Linked DNA regions of Homo sapiens: region 2 is linked to region 1. Evidence: promoter capture Hi-C in human tissues and cell types (Jung and others, 2019). All regions are on one chromosome and are shown on one strand. Each heading gives the region's core, a stretch centred on a gene start or on the middle of the fragment in contact. The rest is flanking DNA. Distances are from core to core; before and after follow the strand shown.

The links. Contacts are between HindIII fragments. The study calls those that stand out against the background at their distance.
Region 2: a contact is called between a fragment that was not itself captured here and the fragment with the promoter of NPHP4 in region 1, in 1 of the 25 tissues and cell types used here (dorsolateral prefrontal cortex).

The regions. Positions count from the first base shown.
Region 1 is chr1:5,990,195-5,994,700 of GRCh38, reverse strand. It overlaps NPHP4 (nephrocystin 4), which reads left to right and starts at 2,276. Exons shown (of 30, transcript NM_015102.5): 1 at 2,276-2,457. It also overlaps a transcript of KCNAB2 not described here. RefSeq lists enhancers at 927-976, 2,853-3,707 and silencers at 1,727-1,976, 2,057-2,236, 2,277-2,446, 2,597-2,776. The HindIII fragment of the contact is 9,165 bases long and covers 1-4,506 here.
Region 2 is chr1:4,675,411-4,679,916 of GRCh38, reverse strand. All of the region lies in intron 1 of AJAP1 (adherens junctions associated protein 1), which reads right to left. Among named protein-coding and RNA genes, the nearest start is that of AJAP1, 23 kb to the right of the region's middle. The HindIII fragment of the contact is 5,641 bases long and covers 1-4,506 here.

The DNA.
Region 1 (4,506 bases), core at 1,027-3,526:
TGCTTCCCATCCAGGCTCCAAATCCAGACCCAAGACGGTTCTCAACCAAGAAACACACGAAAAGGGTTTCACACTTTTTCACGACACCCCCCAACTCCAGTGCCTGGCTCAGCCCCCAGGTGTTGACTAGCACCTACAAAGCATTTGCTGACTGGCGCAGGGAAAAAAAAAATGGCCCTGGGTGTCAACAGGGAAGCCCCTACCATGCTGCTCTCGAGGGATGTGCTGCGGCCCGAACACTGTCAGTGCCACTGAGGCCGAGTGTGGCCGTGGAGACAATGACAGGACCTGGAGGACCAAGTGCACTCTTAGGGCCCCACACTGCGAGAGCACAGGGCCAGGAGCTGCACAGGGCTCTGCAGCAGACACGGCCGCCAGGCGAGAATCAGGTGGGCAGATGTGACTCTCCACACGTAGGTCCCCAAACCCTGCAACCTGCAACGCGGGGCCTGAATGCGGCTTCCTTAGCAGAGCAGGAGCTTACTCTTGGCACTGGGGGAAAGGGGAGGGGTGAGGCTGGGGTTTTTGTCGGGGAGGAGAAGTTGCAGAGAAAGAAAAAATCCTGAAACGACAGACAGTGGGACAGCTGTGGCCTGAACTTGGTGTTCTTGCTCCTCGGATGTGGATGTATTAATTTCCATAAATGCTAATAGCCCACTTCCCCAAGAGCTATTACTTATGTCATCTCCCCTTGGACACAGTTCAACACAGGGCAGACAAATGAAAGGGAGGAAAAGACAACCCCCAGTGGCGGTCCCCAGCTCCTCAGCCCCCTCCCAACCAGGCAGCTCAGGTCTGGTTCCTAAGGTGGCCCTGCTAACCGCAGGGTCAAGACCCCTGCCTTCAGCTCCGTAGCCAGGTCCCTATCACGACAGGAAGCAAGAAAGTTACCAACCCCAAAAATGCTGAATCACAAAGTGAGGCTGAGCAGGAAAGTGGGGGTGGGGAGGGAAGGAGACGGTGGCCAGGGAGGAAAGGTGCTAAGGGGCTTTCCACCTGGAGCACCCCGGGATGCTGCGGGCAAAGCACAGTCCCTGTAAGAGCCCCCAGGACAAATGCCAGGAGGAGGGACACCAGGATGCGGCTGGTTGGCGGGGTGGGAAGGTGGGCAGGTACCCCGGCTGCTGCTAATGCCGCAGGACGCGGTGCAGCAGTGGGGTCTTTGCATCCTGGGAGCAGCAGCAGGTAGGGAGGTGCGGAAGTGCTTTGTGCCAAGGCCTGGCAGGAGGGAGAAGCTTAAGATAGGAGTAGGGGCTCAGGGTCAGAAGTGGCGGTGTGTGTGCTGTAAACAGCCCGAGGAACTGGTGCAGGAAGCAGGGTCACAGTCTTGGGGAGCAGGGTAAGGTGGTGAGAGCGTGCCCGCGGGGAGAGGTCGGAGGGGCTGGGGGCAGAATGGGAGGGTGGGGAAAGGGACCGGAGCGACACAGGGACAGGCAGCGAGAACGACGGATGAGCCTTGAGAAGCGATCAGGAGGAGAGATGGGGAGGACCGGGAACAGCAGCGCCCCGGTGGGGCTGCGCAGAGGCCGGGAGAGGGGATGAGAGGAGGATGGAGGAAAGGGGAGGGCGAGGCTGCTAGGACCGGAGCGGGCAGAGATGGGGAAGAGGTGCACCGGGAAGAGGGACGGCGGCAGGGGCAGGGGTCAGGGATGCGAGCTGAAGGGTCGGGCGGGCGGGAGGACAGGGAAGGAAAGACAGAAAGGGATGGGGGAAGGGAGACGATGGAGAAGGAGGTGAGGAGGCTGGAGAGGAGGTGAGACAGCGGCGGAGGCAGGGACGCAGGGCCGGGGAAGAAGAGATGGAGACGGGACCGCGGCGCCTGCCGCAGCGCGGGCCTCGCGGATACCCGCCGCCGCCGTCCCGGAGCAGCTTGGTGGAAAGCGCGCCCCGCCGGGGTCTCCCCGGTACTCACCTGGGGGCTCCAGCTCCGGATCCTGTGCCCCGCGCCGGATCTTCCTTCCCGCCCTGCCCCTGCGACTTTAGCGCCCCCGAATCCCGCTAGCTCCTGCAGGTTCCGCCAGCAGCATCTTCACCTCGTGGGACGCCCGGGGCCACGCCTCTTCCAGCTTCTGATTGGCTATTGTTCACGCCAGTCACATTACCATTGGTTGAGGGGTCGTCGGACATGCAAATCAGGATGGGCCCGCCGCCGCACCGATTGGCTGGCGCTCGCAAAGCGCAGCCCTCGACTTGGGCTCTGATTGGCTCCGCGGCCCTGACGGCGACAGTGACGCGAGGCGGGTTCTTGGACTGAGTGTGCGGCGCGGTGCGCCGCCTTCCGAGGCTCCTCCCGCGGGTGGCAGCGGACGGGGCGCGCCCCTCGGCCAGTCCTCGGTCCTCAGGCTTGTGGCTCCGTTGAGCACCGGCCGCCGGGCCTCTGGGTCCGTCGAGTGGAGACTCTCTGAAAAGCGTGGGCTCCGTGGCCTCCGGCGCGGCCGCGGCGGGTCGGTCTCCTAGGTAACGCGGCCCGCGGCGGGCGGAACCATGTGGGCCGGCGCCGCGGGGGAGGTTGGACGCGGCCTCGAGGCACAGGGGGCCTCAGTGTTGGCCAGAGCCTCGGGGTTCGGGGGTAGGGTGGTCCACGCCGTCCCTGCGTGGGGGCCCGGTGCCTGGGGTGCGGCGGTGGCGCGCGGCGGGGGCTGTCCCCGCGTTAGTCGCAGGCGTCCCCCCTCGTCGGGACACTTGGGGTCGGGGCCGCTGGGTGCCGTTTGGCTACGTGGGTTCCTTTCTGCCCTTGCCCTTTGCCCCCTGCCCCCTGCCCCCTGCCCCCTGCCCCCTGGCCTCTCTGCAGCCCCTCGGCTGAAGGGAGCGCGGTACCGATGTTCTGGGCCTTGGCTCCCCGCGCCCTAGTCCGCGCGCATCCTTCCCAGGCCGGAGTCCGCGGACCCCGCCTGGCCGCGCCCCTCCGCCCCTCCTCCCCGCCCCCCGGCTCCAGCTCCGGCTCCGGCTGTCAGTTCCCCGCGGTGGCTCTGCGGCCTTCGGGCGTCCCTGCGAGGCTTTGTACCCGGCGCCGTCCCGGCCTTCTGCGCCCCTTTCCTGCCTTGGAACCTCCCGGCCGACCCGGCCCGGAAGGCGCCACCCGCTCCCGCGTGCCCTTCCCCACGCGTGCAGGCTGCTCCCGCCCGCCCCCGGGCTTGCAGGCACCTCGCTGCCCGAGATTCCTCGTGTCTAACTTCTTAGGAGACCGCTGCTTTCTGCCTCCGTGTGTCGCGATGTGTGGCTTTGGTGGACGTCTGTGAAGGAAATCCAGCCTCTCGCGTGTGTAGTTGGCAAAAGGAGGAGTATTTCTGTTGATGGTGGGCAGCGCCTCCCGGTCCTAACCCAGGGCTCCGTTCGTTGCACCTCCTCTGTGCAGTTTCCGTAGGTCACACTTGTGTCTTTTTGTATGCTAATTTGTGCCCCGTTTCTTTACATTCTATGGGGGTAGCGAGCTTGTCTGCTGTGTTCAAGACCGTTTCTCCCGGGCGCAGGGTAGGTGCTGAAAGAATGCTCATGAATGAGGGAATTCCAGGCAGTGCTTAATCAGACCTCTGCTTCCCCAAAAGCTCCCCAAGGCATCTGGGTCTCAGGCATTACACATTTTCCATTCCGGGAAGGAGGCTTCCCGGACCCTGACAGCGCCTCCCACCCCCTGCATCTTCCTTCAGCCCTGCTCACCTCTGCACCCTCCCGGGGGCCTGTTGCTGCTCACAGTCACTTTCTTGTCTTTCTCCCCCACTGGCTTTCTAGATGCTTGAAGACAGCACATTTGACAGCCTTCTTATGCACTGGAACACAAGTGCTCGGGAAATAGTTGCTGAATAGATCAGCAGAAGCAGAGATCTCAAGGAGATTTCACAGCTCTCATTTTGGAGGTTGGAAACAGGTGGGGAGGCTGCGAATCTGTCCTGAAGTTAAAGAGGAGACAGCATTAGCCCTGGGTTCCTTTGGTGCTCTTACTTTTTCCCTCTGGGCCTCTCTTCTCCCTTGGCCTCTCCTGGCCTCCTTGATTGAGGTAGTGGGAGGTAGTTATAATAGCTTACAGTATTATATCTATAATACTATTATAATAGCTAGTTATAATAGCTAGCTGTGTGACCTTGGATTGGCTGTTTATCCTTTCTGAGTCTCAGTGTTCTCATCTGTAAGATGGCGATAATGATGATTCTCATTTGGCAGAGTTGTTGGAATAGTAACCATAGAATGTGAGTTCCTGTCTTGCATCAGGGGCTCATTAAAAGTGGGTGTATTTTCTTCTTCTTCTTTTTTTTTTTCCCCTGGAGAGCCCACTGTACCCTTTTCTTGGGTTCAAGACCTGGAGCCTTCTCGATTTTCTCTTTTATTGTTGATTTGGCCCCAAAGGCCCCTCTGCACTTCCTCCAGGGCATTTGTATTTCATCCTTAAAAGACTTTTGCTGAAGACCCAGCCTGGTGTCATGGAGCTCACAGTCTCGCAGGACTACAGCACAGCCCTGGTGAAGCGTGGTGGCTCTTCTGTCACCTGCCCTGTGTGGGAGCAGCCGGAGG
Region 2 (4,506 bases), core at 525-3,024, 1.3 Mb after region 1:
CAGATCTTGGGGATTCTCAGCCTCCCTGATCATGTGAGCCAACTCCTTGTAAGTATCTCTCTCTACACACACACACACACACACACACACACACACACACACACACACCCTATTGGTTCTGTTTCTAAGCAGAACCCTGATTAATACAACTGATGTCTTTATAAGAAGAGGCAAGGACACATGTGGATGGGAGAAGGCCATGTGAAGTGGAGGCAGAGATTTGAGTGATGCATCTATAAGCCAAGAAACACCAAGGACTGCCAGCAACCACCAGAAGCTGGAAGAGGCAAGGAAGGATTCTACCCTACAGATTTCAGAGGGAGTATGGCCCTGCCAACACCTTGATTTTGGACATCTAGTCTCCAGAACTATGAGGTAATATATTTCTATCATTTTAAGCCATCCAGTTTGTAGTACTTTATGGTGGCCACATTAATCTAATGCAGACAGCCTGAAGTCCTCAGGTCACTTATGATCTGAGGCCCCTAATAAAGATTCCAGAATATAAATAACTTTCATTCATTCATTCATTCATCACTCAGATATTTCTCCTGTGCCTGCTATTTGTGGGTCTTTGTTCTAGTAGCTGGGGACATGGGACAAAACCCACTGCCCTCCTGGAGTTCAGGTCCCAGGAGAGGAGACAAGCAGGAGAGAATCCAATGTGTAAAGTGCACAGTGGATCCCATGGTGATGAGTACTGTCAAGAGAAATTACTACGTCAGGCAGCAGGTTTCCCAAGTGTTAGGCTGCAGTTTGAAATAGGATGGTTCTCTTCCAAACTTGAGAAAGCTGGCAAATGCATGGCACTGAGCTGTCTCCCAGAGTCCAGGTCTTGGTCAGCAGCTTGCCCCTGGCCTTCTAGGATGAAGCAGTTAAGGGCAGGTGCACCTGATTGTGCAGTTTGAATGCATGCTATGTAGCCTTGTGCAAGTTACTGAACATCTCTGGGAATTGTCTTTCTGAGCTGTGCAATGAGGATTAGGATAGGAGCATACCTACTCGGTTGTTATGAGGATTACATAAGATGTTTTAAATGAGATGCATCTGGCTCACAGTCCTGTTGAGTCAATAAATGTTAGTGATTATTTGGAACTGCCCAAAGAGAGCAAATGACCGCAGTGGTGGACATGCTCTAAGGAGGCAGGCAGGGTCCCCACCTCCTGGTGTTCAGTCTTAGATGGTGCACTCCCTCGAGTGTGGGTGGGACCCATGACTCACTTCTAGCCAACAGGATACAGCAAAGGTGATGATGTTACTTCTGTGATAACGGTACATGAGATTGTAACATCCATCTCGCTAGGGTACTCTCTCCCTTGCTGGCTTATTGTGAGTTCTCATTTGGAGAGGGCTGCAGGGCAAGGCACTGACAGCCAGCAGAAAACAGAGGCCCTCTGTCAGGCAGCCTTCAAGGAAATGCATGCTGCTAACAACCACATGAGCTTGGCAGTAAATCCTTCCCCAGTTGAGCCTCTGATGAGATCACAGACCCGGCCAACATCTGGTTTCAGCCTTGCACAGGGCCCAACTAAGTTGTGCCCAGACTCCTGACCCAGGGAACATGTGAGATAATATGTATGAGTTGTCATTTGTGAATGAGCAGTATGTAACCAATAGATAGTAGTGCACACTCCTAGACCAGATTCACTCATATTTGTGATACAATTTCAAGTGCTCATTTCTACCCAACACCACTCTAACTGCTTCACAAATATTTGTTCTTCTTCAACTGCACCCAAAGGAATGCTATGAATTTCAGGCCACAGGAAAGATTCACAAGGGAGATGGTAATTCAACACAGTCCCTAGCACTGGCCAAAGGGACACCCTGCTGCAGTCTTGCTGGCATGGCTTTCTCTGCTGTATGTGGGAAATGCATCAACCCACCCCACTGGGGGCTGCTGTACCCACCATCTGACGGCACCAGGGCTGATCGACATCCTCTACGAGCCACCAGGAAATGTGCTACTCATGAACATAACAAGCACTCCTCCTCACCTGATATTTATATGTTTTACGAAAATTAGTGAGTTGGCATTCCAACTGGAAGCAATAGTTGGCTCCAGCACCACAATGGACAGAGAAAGGAACTGTGTCATTTTCATCACCTATGAGATATATTTAGCTACTGGCTTCTGATGACCTCAACACATAGGCACATGATTTTTTTTTTTGAATGCACATCATTTTCATTCGGAGCATTACCTGGAATATCATCTGCCCCATATGAATACCCGCTGGCTGACTTTTTAAGAGTTTCTCCTGCACACCCTGGCTTTATGCCCGCTGAATGGCAAGCCTTGGTTTCAGATGTTAAATTTTTTTTTAATCCTTCCTTCCCTCCTTAATCCCTTCTCTGTCATCTGCTTGGCGTCACAGAGTGGACCCAGAGAGAGGTGGAATCCCCTCTGGAAAGAGGAGAGAAAAGCCGCTGGCCAGCTCCTGTGGAAGCCCTCCTGCATTTGAAGAGTTTATTTACTACAAATAAAAGCAATTAATTAGCCGGGCAGCTGTACACACAGGGCAGCCTCTCTATTCGTGGAATCAGGGATGTGTGAGGTCAGAATCCTCAACCTTTAGGAGCCCTACAAAGCGAGAACTTGCAGGCAACTGCAGCCCACCCTGACTGTCTGCTGGCGGGTCCCCCTTGGCAGCATCCCAGCCACATGTCACTTACCCAGACTTACCAACCTCTGATCATGTGAAATTCATAGCATCGCATTAGAGGCATTTGGGTTCATTGCTTTTCTTTTATTTTTTGAGACGGATTCTCACTTTTGTCGCCCAGGCTGAAGTGCGGTGGCACGATCTCAGCTCACCGCAACCTCCGCCTCCCAGGTTCAAGCAATTCTCCTGCCTCAGCCTCCCAAGTACCTGAGATTACAGGCACACGCCACCACACCCAGCTAACTTTTGTATTTTTAGTAGAGACGGGGTTTCACCATGTTGACCAGGCTGGTCTCGAACTCCAGACCTCAGGTGATCCACCTGCCTCGGCCTCCCAAAGTGCTGGGATTACAGGCGTGAGCCACGGCCCCTGGCCATTTTATTTTCTCTTTGAAACTCTGTAGCCAACAGCATTGCACATGTTCTTCCCACTCTTGGCAAATTCGAGAATGCAATACCCCTTTTGGCATCTACAGGCTAAAAACTTCAAGTGGCTAATTCTGTGCCACCTGTCCCCCTTGGTGCAAATACTGAGAGCAAAGATCTGTTTGAGAGTATGTTGTCCCCAAAGGCCAGATGACAGATGAGCTGGGCACCCGACAATCCAGTCTCCCTCACTCCCGTCCCCCCATCATCTCCTGATTACTTTGTGGGCTGGATTTCCCAAGGAACGGCCCCTCTCTCTCAGTCTCACATGATTTCAAAGCTGACTTCCCAGAGTCCCTGAGGCAGCGTTGGTTTCACTGTTTCTGAGAAGGGGTAATGCAGGTGGCTTCAGGCCCCCAGGACGACGAGAGCTAGGGTCAGAGTCTAACCAAGCCAGCTGGACCGGAAGCTTCACGTTCTGTGATGCACCCAGATGTGTTTCAGAAGCGGGTGGCCTCTTCTGGATTTCTTTGCCAAAGTTTGGATTCTACTGATTTGTCGTAAATAAACTCAATTTTCACTCCCTTCACACAAATCATCTTTTTTTGGAACTGGTTAAAAAAAATAAAGAATGCGCAAGTACATGGAAGATGAGGAAATCGGAGGAGCGTGACTAAGACACTAGCCCCAAAAATGACACGAGGAGGCAAGGCCGGTGCACACTGGCCTCTGCAGCAGTGGGCATCATGAACTCGCCGGGGATCCTCTCCCAAACACACGGAGCATCCAGGAACCAGGAAAGAGGAGATGCACAAAACGAGTAGCAAGCTACCTAGAGAGAGGCCGTCCCTGCACGAGGACACAGAGCTGGGAGCCCACAAGACGGGCTTCCTCCTAAACGTGGGCGTCCCAGCCCCTGCAGGAAGGCGAGCAGACTCCACGCAGCTTCTCTGCAGCAACTCCACCGTACCCTCCAGAATGTCTTCCTTAGCGGGAGAGAAACCACTCACCATCCATCTTCTCTCCTAAAATTTCCGCCCACACCATCTTCAGGGCAGGTTTAACTGGCCTGGGCTACACCATTATCAACTGTAGAATAATGTGAGGCACCTGGTCGCTGGTGTAAACCAGATTGTTTAGTAAAGAACTTTGCCCAAGAGAGGTCAGACCTTTGCCCTGGGCTCCTGGAAGGCATCTCTGGGCCCCTGGAATGTCCTGCCTGATAAGAATTTCTGTGTTTGCCTGGGGGCCTTGGCCACCATACAGTCGAGCAATGTGATTTAGGCTAGAGGCTTTGGGTCAGATGGTATCTGCTCCATTTCCCAAGGGGCAGGACACTGAGGTAGGCCACATGGTCATTCAACCAGGTCTATGTTAAGAGGCCCCAGTAATAAACGCTCGGGACACCAAGGCCAGGGGCTTCCCCGGCTGGCAATGCTCCCTGGGCACTGTCACTCACTGTTGCCAAGAAAGC